5 separate regions of the Homo sapiens genome follow, and regions 2, 3, 4 and 5 are each linked to region 1. The links are contacts of gene promoters, found by promoter capture Hi-C in blood cells and fetal thymus (Javierre and others, 2016). All regions are on one chromosome and are shown on one strand. The core of a region is centred on a gene start or on the middle of the fragment in contact, and the rest is flanking DNA. Distances in the headings are between cores, read along the strand shown. Region 1 holds the start of HHLA2 (HHLA2 member of B7 family). Region 2 has its middle 78 kb from the start of LINC00636. Region 3 overlaps LINC00636 (long intergenic non-protein coding RNA 636). Region 4 overlaps LINC00636 (long intergenic non-protein coding RNA 636). Region 5 has its middle 100 kb from the start of CD47.

Region 1 (2,700 bases), core at 10-2,509:
CTGGAAACTGGGTTGAAAGTCCCAGCTACTCGGGAGGCTGAGGCAGGAGAATGGCGTGAACCTGGGAGACAGAGCTTGCAGTTAGCCGAGATCGTGCCACTGCACTCCAGCCTGGGCGACAGAAAGAGACTCTGTCTCAAAAAAAAAAAAAAAAAAAAAAACGAAAAACAAAAACAAACAAAAAAGAAAACGTTGGCGTGGGTGACTTTGGGGATTCTAGGAAGAGCCCTGGCGCTTTCAACCCAGTTTCCAGTGGGCAGCAGAAGGCTCACTATGGATGACTCTGACTAGAGAAGAAGGAAGTCAAGGAAGAGATGGGGAAGAGGAGGGGGAGTTCCCCAAATGTACTTTGCCCTCTCCCCTGAGTGTGCATGTGTGGCAGGAGGTTAACGTTGATGTGGTGAGTAATGCCGAAAGGCTATAAAGCTAGACAGGGCCCTATGATTATATGATCAGGGGATTTGTGTGCTGTGCCAAGGCTTGGATGGCATCCTTTGTTCCAGACAGAAGGGTCCTGTTTATTGTCCTCCTAAGGTAATTTTTGTTCACTTTGTAACTTTTGCTCCCATGCACTCAGCAAACAGATATTGACCAGCTACTATGTGCTAGTAAGTAAGTGGTAGTTGTTTGGGATACAATAGTGAGTAAAGCATGACTCTTAGCATCTGTTGTATGTGCATGCATGCCATGCATGTGACACTGAGGGAGAGAGAGATTAAATGATATGACAGCATAGAGGCTGGGCACTGCCCAACTTTCCATGTGGAATTCAGAGAGGTCTTTATTTCTCTGAAGTTGAGTTTAAGCTTGGGTGTTCTAGCGACCAGAACTGTAATGGGAATTGTAGGTGCAGATGAACTTTGTGTAGGGTTATGGTTCTTTCTCACAGAACTATTGGCACCCACTGCAACCAGCTACACAATTTTCTTTACAACTCTGCAGCAAGCTAGACAGGTCACAGGCAGTCCAACCTCAGGAGGTTGCCTGTATCATGTTGATGGTGAAGCTGACACCATAGCATGGAAACCAGAGTCCACTGCTCCCACAGCTCAATGCTTAGCTGTTTCAATATGTTGTCTGAAACTGCATCTTCTAATTCCTGGACTTTTCAGATCTGTACTGACTCAGATCTGGGTGGGGCTTAGTTTGAAGGAGGGAGTCCTTGGTGATGATGTGATTTCCTTGGTCTGTCATAGGTAGCAAATCAAACGTACCTTGGACTTTACTCTCTGAGAAACTCATAGCTGAATTCAATGTTTATTCTTATGGACTACTTAGCATTTGACTAGACGGTATGAATTTCTAAGTAAGGTAAGGATTTCTTTCTAAGTTGTTTATACCTAGAACTTAAAAGTGGGCATGAATAAATCAAATATGGGTGGTTTTTAGTTGACACTTTATTTTCCCGTTAGGAAAAAATTAGTGACTGATCTTTTAAATTGATTTAGTGCATATACTATGTATTGTGCATATGCACCAAACAAATACTTAGTAAAAGGTTGTCTTGAAGGAACATGCTGATATATTTCAAATAAAAGAACTTAGCAAAAATGAGGAAAATACCTAACATTCTGGTAAGACAGTGAAAGAGGGATGAGCAATGTTTGTTTTGAAAATTATCTGCGAACTTTAAAAAAATCTCTAAGAGTGTATTCTTACTTGTAATTGTTCATCTAGTTACACTACAGAGTTTTATTAGCTGCTCCAAGATGCACTGCGTTCCATTCTGTGGTGGAAACAAAAGGACCGTAGTAGTGGTTATCTAGCAGAAGAATCGTGATCTTTGAATTCTAATACAAGAAACTTAGAAGTCTCCTAGATATTTCCACTGTCTCAGGGAAGAATCATTAAGTTTATGTCATTTTTTAATAACTAAAACAAGATTCAAAAAGTTAAGATTCAATTCTCATTGGGTTTCTATTGTTTGGGACTTTGGATAATAGAAAAAAATATGAACAGGTAATTTAGGTTTTTTTGTGTTACTGGTACCTGACAAAACAAACTTGAGCTTCCCATTTCCTAGAAACTTGGAGGAAATAATTTCTGTCCAGAATGGCAAATTGGTGTCATATCCCATTATAAGCATATTTTAATCAAAAGATGCAATAAAGTGTAGTGGTCAAGATCATAGTCTCTAGAGTCAAGTAATCCTTGGTGCATTTACCTGCTTCATCATTAACCAGTTGTATATTTTTCTCAGAGCCAGTTTCCTAATCTGTAAAATGGGGGTAGACTAGTATTGCTGTGAAGATTAAATGAAATTTATTAAAGTGCTTAGCAAAGTGCCTGGTATGTAGAAAGTGTTTAATAAATATTATTATTTCAGAATATAGATGTAAAAGACAAATGATTTCCTATATAATCATATTGAGTAGCCTGAAAGTTTGGTGGCTCTTAAATAAATCCATGAATGAAGGCTCTGCCTACTTTTGGCGTGTGGCCCACCAGCATGTTCTATCAGTTGGCCTGAGCTGGGAAAGAAACCAATTCCTGTGTTGAGTTTTCCTCCAGGTGCTTAAAATAGACCATAGCTTAATATTTTGATCATTAACCAGTGATTCTGGGTGGCTTCTCCTTGCTCTGGTCAGTGACCGGTGTAGGTCACGTAGTACAGCATTAAACAAGGTGTTTTTCCTCCTGAGGTTGTCATGTCAACTCTAAATTCCCAGAGACTTGCCTAGGAGTGGAGAGTTTGTTCTG
Region 2 (2,700 bases), core at 46-2,545, 330 kb before region 1:
GCAAAGAGAGATTATAGGTCATAACCACACAAGCAGAAAATGGTAGAGCCAAGACACATGCCAAGATTTTTCTAGAATTGGTGCTGATTCCAGTGTATCATACTATAGCAGTTTCCAAAAATGGCCCCCAAATCCTTTGAACCTCCATTCATCAGAAGGTGGTGCCTATGTCCCCCTCCCAGGGGTCTGAATGGGGTCTGTGACATCTCCAACCAATGGAGAATGGTAGAGGTAATGCTGCATGATTTTTGAGGCTAGGTTAGAAAAGACCAAGCAACTTCAACCCTGCCTTCTGGGAATGTTTGTTTTTGAAACCCAGCTACTATGTCATGAGGAAGCCCAACCTAGTCCATGTGGAGAGACTATCTGGAGAGATCCTGAGACTACAGTGGGGAGGGAGAGAGAAAGGAAGGGGGAAAGCGGGAGGGGACTCTGGCCAGTTCTCAGCGGCTCCAGTCTTCCTTTCCTCTCTCTGGCTGTCTTCTTTCGTCTCCCACTATTTTAAGTCCAACAAGTGTTTGACTGCAAGTACACAAGAGACTCAAACCAGATTCACTTGAATGACACCTTCCTGAATTCCTGGATTCCCACAGAAACTACCAATAAAATGATTATTGTTTTAAGCTATGTTTTGAACATAGCAATGAACACTTGGTCTGAGCACTGTTACCAAGTATGTAATATGCTACATCCAGAACCTAAAAAGGCCCACCAGGCATTATGCTTCCTCCTTAGTGGTGGGAGGGGTAATATACAATACTTTGTTCTTTGCCTTGAGAGGGTTGTCATGGCATGCCCAAACCACTAGACCCCATCAAGAAATTTCCTTGATATTTCAGGGCCCTCAATCTTCATTAGATGTATTTTCCACATTCTGCAATTCATATGTCTCACCAAGTCCTCCAAAATGCTTGTGACTTCCTGCTTAAAGTGGAGAAATGTATGGTTCTCAGGAGCTACTGGTCTGGTCACTATACTAGGAGAGAGGGAAAGAGTTAACATAGTCCTGGGGCAAGATCATAAGTATATATTGCTGTTCATTTCAGTGCAGATCAATGGCTGCATGCCATGTGTGGTGTATAGGAGAAAACCAAACCAAAGGGCTTTTTCTATTCTCCCACTCAACAATCAACAACAGATCCCACAGGATGAGGGCTCAGTCCCACAAGACTGCCCCACACTTCAGATGGTAATCACAAGCTCAAGGTTGTCTGACCTCTGCTTCTGACCTACTGTCTGTAAATCAGGGCTCCTGTGACCACCTCCTTGAGTTCAACTAATTTGTTAGGGTAGCTCACAAAACTCAGGGAAATACTTACTTATGCTATCTGGTTTACTATAAAGGATATTACAAAGAAACAGGCGGATGGAAGATATACACAGGGCAAGGAATGGGAGAGGAGGAGCTTCCATGCCATCTCTGGGCACACCATCCTCCAGGGATCTCCATGTGTTCTGCTATCTGTATGCCCACTCAAACCCTGTCCTTTTGGGTTTTTATAGAGGCTTCATTACACAGGCATAATTGATTATATCATTGACCATTAGTGATGAACTCAACTTTCAGCCACTCTCCTTTCCCTGGAGGTCAGGGGCTGGGGCTGAAACTTCCAACCTTCTAATCCCATAGTTGGTTCCCTGATAACTGGCTCTTATCTTGAGGCTATGCAAAAGCCCACCAAGAGTCACCTTATTAGAGCAAAAGAAGCTCCTGTCGCCCAGAAAATGCCAAAGGACTTAGGAGCGCTGGGTCAGGATCCAGAGTCAAAGACCAAATATTAAAATACAAGATGCTTGTAGCACCCCTATTCATCAGGAAATTATGAAGGCTTGAGGAGCTCTGTGCCAAGGACTGCTGGCAGAAACCAATATGTGTATTTCTTATCAGTTTCACAGCATGTATTAGACACCGTGTTAACTTGCTCTAGCAAAGACACCACAATTTGTACAGCAGCTACAATTGGGGCTGCTACTTGGTAGAATTGTCGGTTGCCCAAAAATTCATACCAAGAAGCCACATGGCTTTTATAGATGTAAGACTGGTCAATTAAATAGGGATAGGGTGTGGCTTCTAACCCTGCATCCTTTTGATCTTCAAGATGGACTCTAATCTCTGTCATTTCCTCCAGGATGCAATATTGTTTTTGATTTAATGTGTTGTCCAGAGTTGATGGAGTAGTATCAGAGGCTTCTTTGGGCTTTCCCATTATAATTCTTACCTTATAGGCCAGAAAACCAATAGAGGGGTTCTGTCAATTGCTTCTTCTAATTAGGTATTCAGAAACTAGGGAAATGACCACTGGTTGGGCCCATACACGTAGTTGATCTACTATGAGCCAATTTTTATCCAGAGTCCTCATTTGCACCCTTTAAAATAGGTGTGTTTGTGTGTGTGTATGTGTGTGTGTGTGTGTATGAGTGTGTACCTGATGATGCTTTGGGCCCCCAGGTGTTAATGTTAACACTCAGTTCTTGAAAGGCTTAAGTGTTCCCCTTTCCCCAGTACATTGTTACCTAAGTAGATGATTGTAGATCCTTTTGGAGAAGGACAGGAAGAATCATTAAAAATTAAAACTTGCCATGATTTTGCAGTCTCTTTCTGATGAGACACAGCCTTTCCTTCAGTCATGTGGGCTCAGGGTTGAGAACAGGACCAGGTACAGAAACTCAGCAAGAAACTGTGACATTTTATTGGGACAG
Region 3 (2,700 bases), core at 152-2,651, 380 kb before region 1:
GTGGAGGAACAGGAATTTTTATACACCTCCAATAGGGATAAAAAATAGTACAACTAACTACTTTGGAAAACAGTTTGGCAGTTTCATAAAGTTATATATACACTGTCATATGACCCAGTCACTCTAATCTTAGGTATTTACCCAATAGAAATTAAAGCACAAATCCACATAAATAAAGACTTGTACATAGATGTTTATAGCCCCCCCTCAGAAAAACAACCCAAATATCCATCAATCAGTGAATGGATAAACAAACTGTCACATATCCATATAATGGGACCCAACTTGACAATGAAATGTAACAAACTACAGCAACATCATGATAAAATCTCAGCAACATCATGCTTAGCCACATGCAAGAATGTACATGCTGTGTTATGCTACTTACATGCAATGCTAGCAAGTGTGCACTATATTTCAAGGGACAGAAAGAAGATCAGTGGTGCATAGGATAGGAGAGCCAGTATTGACTTGACAAGGGTAAGAGGGGACTTTGTGGACGGATAAAAATGTTCCATATCTTGATTGTGGTGCTTACATAAGCGTATGCATTTGTTAATGCTCATCAAACTGTACATTTATAATGGTGCATTTCATCTTATGTAATACAATTTAATATAGTTGATTTGTTTAAAAAAATAGAGGGAGTATTTGAAGGGATTCTGAGGGTGGCTCTCTGGGATCCCTCAGGGATGACAAATTGTCCTTCTCTGCTCCATGGTCCTTCCACCATCCCATGCCATCCCACTCCTCCCACCACCACCCCAGAAAGTAAGGGAGCTGTTTGACATGCATCTCTTTGACAGTGAAGGTTCCTGCTCCATGCAATTTCAGAAGGTAGAAGGCTTGATGGCATAATGTATGCCAGTGGGGCTTGAAGAGATCCTTTAGTGTGCCTGGAAGAGGAAGGAGGAAGGAGGAAGTGGACATGCCTTCCCCTGTTCTCTGTGACTTTCAGGCACAGAAGAGGACCCCGATGTCTGCTGGAAGCACAGAGCTTTGTAGAGAGATCACAGGTGTACAGCAACCTGAGTGGGGGCCGAAGGGACACGCAGCTGCCCCTCTAGGGCAAAAGCATCCCATGAGGGAGCTGGCATGAAGCTGAACATGGCCTCAGGAAACCATGCATACAGCTACAGCAAGATAGCAGATGCCACGGAACAAAGTGCCACCAGATCAGGACACAGGCACCTCCTACTACTGAGGCTGCTGCTCCCAGCCACAAGAAGAGGAGTTCTTTCTCCTCCCCGCTGGGGTTGGAGTCGGTGAAGCTGGGATAGACAGTATTAGTTCAGGGAGAAAAAGCTTGTACCTATGAGTAAGGACAGCTAATGATATTGAATTTTGACAGAATTGTCAACAGAGAAAGCCTAAGACTTTAACAAGAATAGATTACAAAAATCAGTGGACTAGACTAAGATTTAAACAAAAATAGGACAAAAAATAAGACATATGCTCTGGGTAGATTTTAAGGTTCAAAGAAGTTTTGAGAATATAGCAAGCTTCATTAAAAAAAAATTTGCATGGATCTACTTCAGTCCAACTGTTACACTTACATTCAAATAGGATTGTTATGATACACTCTTTTGCAACCTGCTATTTTCACTGGGTTATATATCGTGAACATTTGTCCATGTCAATATATAGTCTTCTACAACATGGTTTTTAATGTCTGTGCAGCATCTACCACATGAATGTATGTGTTTTATTTAAATGGTAGCTTATTGTTAAACACTAAGGCTGTTCCAATTTTTCAGTATTATAAATAAGTTTGATGTAGAATCTTACACATGTATCTTTTCACACATCTCTGATTGTGCCCATTAGATAAATTCACAGTTAAGGAATTGCTGGTGCATGGGGTATTTGTATTTTAAGGCTCTTAACACCCTGTAGAAGGTTTGTGTTGATTTACAATTCCACTAGAAATAATTTTAAAGGCTAATTTTCTATTTATCTGTATCTCATTCTGACTCAACAATAAATTGAACTGGCTGAAGGATGCTCATATATCCATCTTTCTTTCATTATTATGTTATACTTAGGGTGAGTGTAGAACTTAAAATTAGCAACACTAGCAGTGTTTTTTATCCTCAGTTTAGCCACAAAAATGGCCGTGTTGGTGTAATGAGAGTAATAATAATGGAGTTAACCTTTAAGGAGAACTTACTGTATGGCAAGTAGCATTCACAGTACTTTACAGGTATTAACAGTCCTATGATGTAAGTACTATTATCCTAGTCATTTTAAAGAAGAGGAAACTGAGTAACCAAAAGGGTAAGTGCCTTGATCAATGTAGCTTTTCAATATTAATATGAATCATTCTTATCTGGATTGTTTCAGTATTTCTGTACATGGTGATTCTTTAATTTGCATCAGGTCTTAAAGAATTAAGGTCTTTCTGTTATACAGACTAAACACCGACTCACCACGGACAAAGACACTTCTGCTCTGAATATGAAATCCTGTGGTTGGATGGTCTTGGGGCCCCCTGTGGCAAAATTCTATAGACCCTGTCCCACACTCTGTCGTGAAAATGGGACTATATTACAGTTCTAATTCCCAAGTACAGCACTGTCACATACTGCCCCAGTCAGTTGTAGAGTTTTCCACAAGTAATTTGTTATAAGTAATTAAGTTCTGAAGTTTGCAAATGGAGCATTTTTCATGTAAATTGGAGTGGATGTGAGATTATCCTTG
Region 4 (2,700 bases), core at 41-2,540, 400 kb before region 1:
AGGAAAGAGCTGAACTGAAAAAGAAAAACCTTTCTGCTCTCTAAATTTAGAATAAATCCATCACCATTTTTGTTTTACCTCAATTAACTTTATCCCGCTGAATTCATCTAGTCTCCAAAGAAATCTTACAGCCTGGAGAGTTCCTCCATTCGTCTGGACTTTTAAAAGTTCTTGTGAAATGTATAGTCCATGTGATCAGGAAATCTGAGTATACTGGTAGTTCATTATTATGATGGCGCTTGTGGGTGTCAGGAACGATAATGTCTGTATTTAATGGTATTTGTGGCTTGCCCCTGGCTTGCAATTACCTGCCAAGTGTAGTGGCTAGATTGAAAACATGATTGCAGCAGCCCATTTTCTCTTAGAAATCCTACTGGCTCCTTGATGATAATTTGACCTAAAGCATTGTGAGTGTGAGAGTGTGAGTGTGTGTGTGTGTATGTGTGGTGCTGTCACTTCCTCATTCCTCCTGTGCAATAAAAGGAAAGTTCCCAGGGAATTGAACAATTCAAATAATAAATTTTTTCAATATTGGCCTTGCTCAGCCAGCTGAATATTCTTGATAAAACAGCAGTTGCCTGTCCTGAACCCACACCTTAGGCAAGAGACACCTGGTATGTGGAGAACGTGCTGAGTTCACATGTGGCCATGACAGCACAAGGCTGTAACCGAAGTGTCTGGTCTCAGGAGAGGTTTATTGTCCACAGGTCTTAGGGTCTGCCAGGAGCTGCTGATGATTCAGCCATTTTGTATTCATTTGTCTATTATGAGTGGGACAGCAGCTGTTACTGTTTTATACTCTTAAAATAAAAAAAAAAACGCTGCACAGTTTAGACAACTATACAAGATGACCCCCACTGCTAAAAGTTGAAATACTGATGTTGCATTTACACAGAGTTGGCTGTGAAAAAACAGAATGCAAGGCAGGACTTCGGATTCCCACTGCTGTGCAAAAGGAGAGATAAAAATAATAGCAGCAAAAACTCATGCAAACACATCAACCTCAAGGCTAAGAAACTTAATGCTCCTGAGTGGAGCAGTAGAAAGCTTATGACCATTATTCTCTATTTGATGTATTGCTTGGACAGTTTTAATTATTTTATTCCCATTTAAAATAAAGGTTAATTAAAATGTCTACCAGCTATTAATAGTTCACATGTTAAAAAGAACTTTTTTCTATGTTTTATACGTTTTTCTTGTAAAATCAATGTACAATCACTATAGACAATTAGGGGCAAGAATAAGCAAAATAAAAGAACATGAATATCTAACAATTATATTCCTCTTACAGCATGCCTGGCAAAATTGTAAATGATTTTTACATATAAGCTCATTTAATTGTCAAAGCAACCTTATGAGGTAGGTTTTTACCTATCCCTATTTTACAGAAAAGGAAACTGAGGCACAGAGAGGTTAAACAACTTGCCCAGAGTCCAAAAAACAGCCTGGCTCCAAAGTCAGCGCTGCTCACCACACTGTTGTACTTCTCTCTACGACCATCCACAGTGCCCCTCCCTCAGGGATAACTTACAGTTAAGCTTAGCATATAGTTTTCCAGATCTTTTCTTATTAATATAAACAAGTAAATATATGGTACACTTGCATATCATGCATCAATATATTGTCTATGTATGTTATATTAATTTCCTAGTCTGACTCTCAAAATAGTCTTTTTAATTTTTCTGACCTTATGAATGAGGAAACAAGCTTAGAGGGGCCGAGTGACTTGCCCCAAATCTCATAGTTGTGGTGGAAGAGAAACCTTTTCCCAGGTCAGCTACCTCCATCAAAGGGATTCTTTTCTCTGCACTAAGCTGCCTCATGGTCTTTTAATTTTGACTGTGATGAAAGCACACAATTTCATCGTGGTGGGATGCATCACCAGGTTGAAGATGATTAGGTGATGTAGTGGGGGCTCTCAGTGCCCTGCCAGCTCTGCCTTACCAGCTGGTGCACCTGTCTCCCAGCGGCTGCAATGCTGGCTAGTAACCATGCCTAGCTGTCCTCCTCTATAGAGAATCGCCTTTGGTCACTTCACCCCTTGCAGGGTCTCGTCTAGAAAACCGGACTTGGGACAAGTGGTGTTTGATAACATGACCCCCCTCTGGGGAACAAAAACCAGCACCCACCTTGAGGCAAGGGCTGCCTTTTGGAGTCCTACAACAGTTTTCATAATTTTTAGCCATACAGTTTGCCTTGAGTCAGTAGGGCTTTTTTCTTTCAAAAAGTCCAGTGACTATTTTTTCAAAATGATTTATTTAAATATTTTGTTAAGGTGACTTACATGGACCAAAGAAAGCCCTAAAAACCATTTCAAACACGTTTAATTCAGGGTCATTTCTCATGTTTCCATATTTCTAAGCTTTAATGCTTTTCTATTTCAAATCAATTACTTTCTATTTATTCTTTAAGCACACATATTTCAGAGTTATAACAGAAGAATAGCTATGAATAACTACCCTGCCTCCTTCTTTAATTTCACAGTACTCCCATCTGCCTTCCATCTCCCTTGCTGAAAATTTTCTCTGCTCCATCACCACAATTTCACTGTTAGCTTTCTCCTACCAACTTCTGGTACATCTCACTATTAAAGTTTTCTCTGTTATAGCCATCCTGTGTGCCCTCTTCTAAATGAACACTTCACTTCTGCCTTAACTGTCCTTTTGAAATCATATCTAGGCACAAAGTCCACAAATTTTT
Region 5 (2,700 bases), core at 184-2,683, 310 kb before region 1:
GGGATTTCCCAGACTGCCCGATAAAATCAGGCCTCCTGGACAGGAGGTGAAGTCCTCACAAAGTACAATAGATACTTGTTTTGGCAACAATCCAGATACTCACCATTAATAGCTTCTTCTAAGTCAGTTTGATTATAGCTTGATTGGGAGAAAACACCCTCCCTGTCTACTTTGCCTACATGAAAGGCATGAAAGAGGTGGGGCAGAGGAGAGGCCTTCTATCATTCTCTAAGACCTAGAAATCTACTTTCACCGGAAGGCACAGACTTCACAGAAGAATTGAGCAAGAGCCAGCGTGGAAATATTGGACAGCTTCCCGGCAACTCTTGAGTCAGGTCATTATTGTGCAGTTTCATCACTTTGTTTGAAGGGAATTCCCAGGACTTCAGGCGTATTCAGGTTCATATGTTATGCAGAAATGCATTCCAAAATCAAAAATACGGTTACTGTGATTTGGGACTTTCTACCCCTATACTTCCTGCTATTCACTAATATAATTATGCATGTTTTATAATTAGAGTATGTTAGGATACACATTTGCATCTTGTATGTGGTTGGGAATACATTCTCAAATCTATTTGTGGGCCCAATAAGCCATGTGACCATGGCAAGTTTCCTCATGGCTCTGTATGTCAATGTACTCATCTGTGAGCTAGAGGCAGGGGTACCAGATGGTCTTTCAACTCCCTTTGACTCTACACATACATTTCCATCTACAAACTAAGTCTGAATTCCTTTAGAAAAGGTGTCAAGAGATTTGTGCCTGGCCAAGACCTTGGAGGATGATGGTGTTGCACTTCGTCTAGTTATTCAGGTAAAAGTAATGACTACTTATATATCTTTTTAGGGTCCCTCTGCTAGGGTTAAGCTTCATGAAGCAGACATGACATCTTTCTTGCTCAGCACTGTCTCCCCAGTGCCTAACACAGTGCCTGGCACATGCAAAGCCCTTGGTAATTATATGTTGAATGAATGAAGGTCACCAGGAGCCTGGATTCTTATCTGCTCAACCTAGGTGGTGAAGAAGCCTGGTGAGACTAGGATTGGGAAAGTTCCCCCAGCTGCTCTGACCTTAAAGGCAGAAGAAGACTCCAGACAATGGTGACCACCTTCTGGGGCCTCTTCTAGCAGCTGAGGCTGCAGGATCTGCAATGCCCAATCCCTAAACCTTCCTAGCCATGTCCTCACACTCCAGGACTGACAATATTAACACATCCCCTGCAGCTCTATGCTTGCCTGGGCTCTACCTGCAGAGATGCTGGGTGGGACAACGTATGTCAATGCTTAGGGGATTCCTACATGATTTTGATGCTGCCTCTCACCTCTGCACTTTGAACCAGGCCTGCCAGACCAACTCCAGTTCCACTCACAGTGCTCCACATGCATCGCTGCAGCCCTGGGCACTCTCCTGCCAATCCCGATGCAACTCTGGCAAGTCCAAATCACTGTAAGGATCACTGCAAGGATGCTCAAGACAAGGGAACAAGTGGGGCCTGGAACCGTGCCCAAATTCCCCTCACTAGCAGTGAGCCCTGCCTGGCATAAAGTTTTGCTCAGCAAAAGGAAAGGCAAACACGGAAGGGTGGGGTTAGAAAAAGCCATAATCCAGATGAGTCACTTTTAATACTTTGCATAAAGGCAGCCCTGCCAGAAGCATCTTTTTTTGGTTTTTCTTTTTTAAAAAATTCTAAATAGTTAAGTGTCCAATATATGCTGGTCAGTCAATACATTTTATATAAAAGTGCAGGATTTGAGCATTTATGTAAAGTGCAGAGCTTACTCTGTTTACCACTGCCATGTGTAAGCAGGGCTGGCCCATTCCCCCTTAGTTACACTTAAAATTTCCTCTTCCAGGCTCAACTCAGAGAAGGAGAAGCTGCAAGAAAGCTCTGCTTTCCCCTGCATCTTGGGGCAGCCCTGTTTGCCTCACAGACAGAGAAGAACCGAGCCCTATATGATATTTTCACCTAATACGAAGCTGAACTTTGGTAACAGTATTAAGCTTTACAATGTTCCTTATGGTCTCCACATTTTGTTTCACTCTTTTGAAATCTGTGATCTCCACTAGAGATCTCTAAATATAATATTCAGAATTTGGAATATCAGCAATTGGAGGTCACACTAGCATTGTGATTGAATTGGGGCTGGGTGGCAGAGAGAGAGTTCAGTTGTACTTGGGCAGGCTCTTTGCTTGTCTATAGGGCTTTAAAGTTTCCCAGGACTAAACCATTTGATTAGCATATGATTTTTCCGTAAACATTGTCCACAGATTATGATCAAAAGTAGTGTGCACTTAAACAAAGACCTGTTAGAATGAACACATTTTCTTTCTTTCCTTTGCTGAGTCTTTCCTTAGGCTCACAATCCTAAGTCTTGGGGGATGTTTGACGATGTCAACATCCATTTTCAAATGTCCAGCAACTTCTACATGTCATCCAGATGGGATGAAAATTAACAAAATGCATCTGTTTTGCAAACTGCTGAATGGAAGATTTGTAATTATAAGATATCTGAAGTTTATGGTTTTGTTTTTTTTTTTAATTTACTAAAAGTCTACAGGGAAAGGAAAACATTGAATTTTAAGTGTGTGTGCATGTTGTCTGTGTATGTGTATGTAAATTGTGCAAAGGATAGGGGAGGGCGAAAGAACCAGTGATGGCAGAAAGTGCTTCCCTTTTAATAATAAGAAACAAATGGAGA

The links. The method cuts DNA at HindIII sites, captures the fragments that hold promoters and counts their contacts. A CHiCAGO score of 5 or more calls a contact.
Region 2: a fragment that was not itself captured here is called in contact with the fragment with the promoter of HHLA2 in region 1 in 1 of 17 cell types (neutrophils); the score reaches 5.6 in neutrophils.
Region 3: a fragment that was not itself captured here is called in contact with the fragment with the promoter of HHLA2 in region 1 in 1 of 17 cell types (erythroblasts); the score reaches 5.3 in erythroblasts.
Region 4: a contact is called between a fragment that was not itself captured here and the fragment with the promoter of HHLA2 in region 1, in 1 of 17 cell types (total B cells). The highest score is 5.0, in total B cells.
Region 5: a fragment that was not itself captured here is called in contact with the fragment with the promoter of HHLA2 in region 1 in 1 of 17 cell types (neutrophils); the score reaches 5.8 in neutrophils.

What each region holds. Positions count from the first base shown.
Region 1 is chr3:108,295,289-108,297,988 of GRCh38, forward strand. HHLA2 (HHLA2 member of B7 family) reads left to right here and starts at 1,260. Exons shown (of 10, transcript NM_001282556.2): 1 at 1,260-1,311. The HindIII fragment of the contact is 2,475 bases long and covers 805-2,700 here.
Region 2 is chr3:107,960,337-107,963,036 of GRCh38, forward strand. No RefSeq gene overlaps it. Among named protein-coding and RNA genes, the nearest start is that of LINC00636, 78 kb to the left of the region's middle. The HindIII fragment of the contact is 6,015 bases long and covers 1-2,700 here.
Region 3 is chr3:107,918,508-107,921,207 of GRCh38, forward strand. The region is part of intron 1 of LINC00636 (long intergenic non-protein coding RNA 636); the gene reads left to right. Among named protein-coding and RNA genes, the nearest start is that of LINC00636, 37 kb to the left of the region's middle. The HindIII fragment of the contact is 197 bases long and covers 1,304-1,500 here.
Region 4 is chr3:107,897,266-107,899,965 of GRCh38, forward strand. The region is part of intron 1 of LINC00636 (long intergenic non-protein coding RNA 636); the gene reads left to right. Among named protein-coding and RNA genes, the nearest start is that of LINC00636, 15 kb to the left of the region's middle. The HindIII fragment of the contact is 491 bases long and covers 1,046-1,536 here.
Region 5 is chr3:107,987,145-107,989,844 of GRCh38, forward strand. No RefSeq gene overlaps it. Among named protein-coding and RNA genes, the nearest start is that of CD47, 100 kb to the right of the region's middle. The HindIII fragment of the contact is 1,134 bases long and covers 867-2,000 here.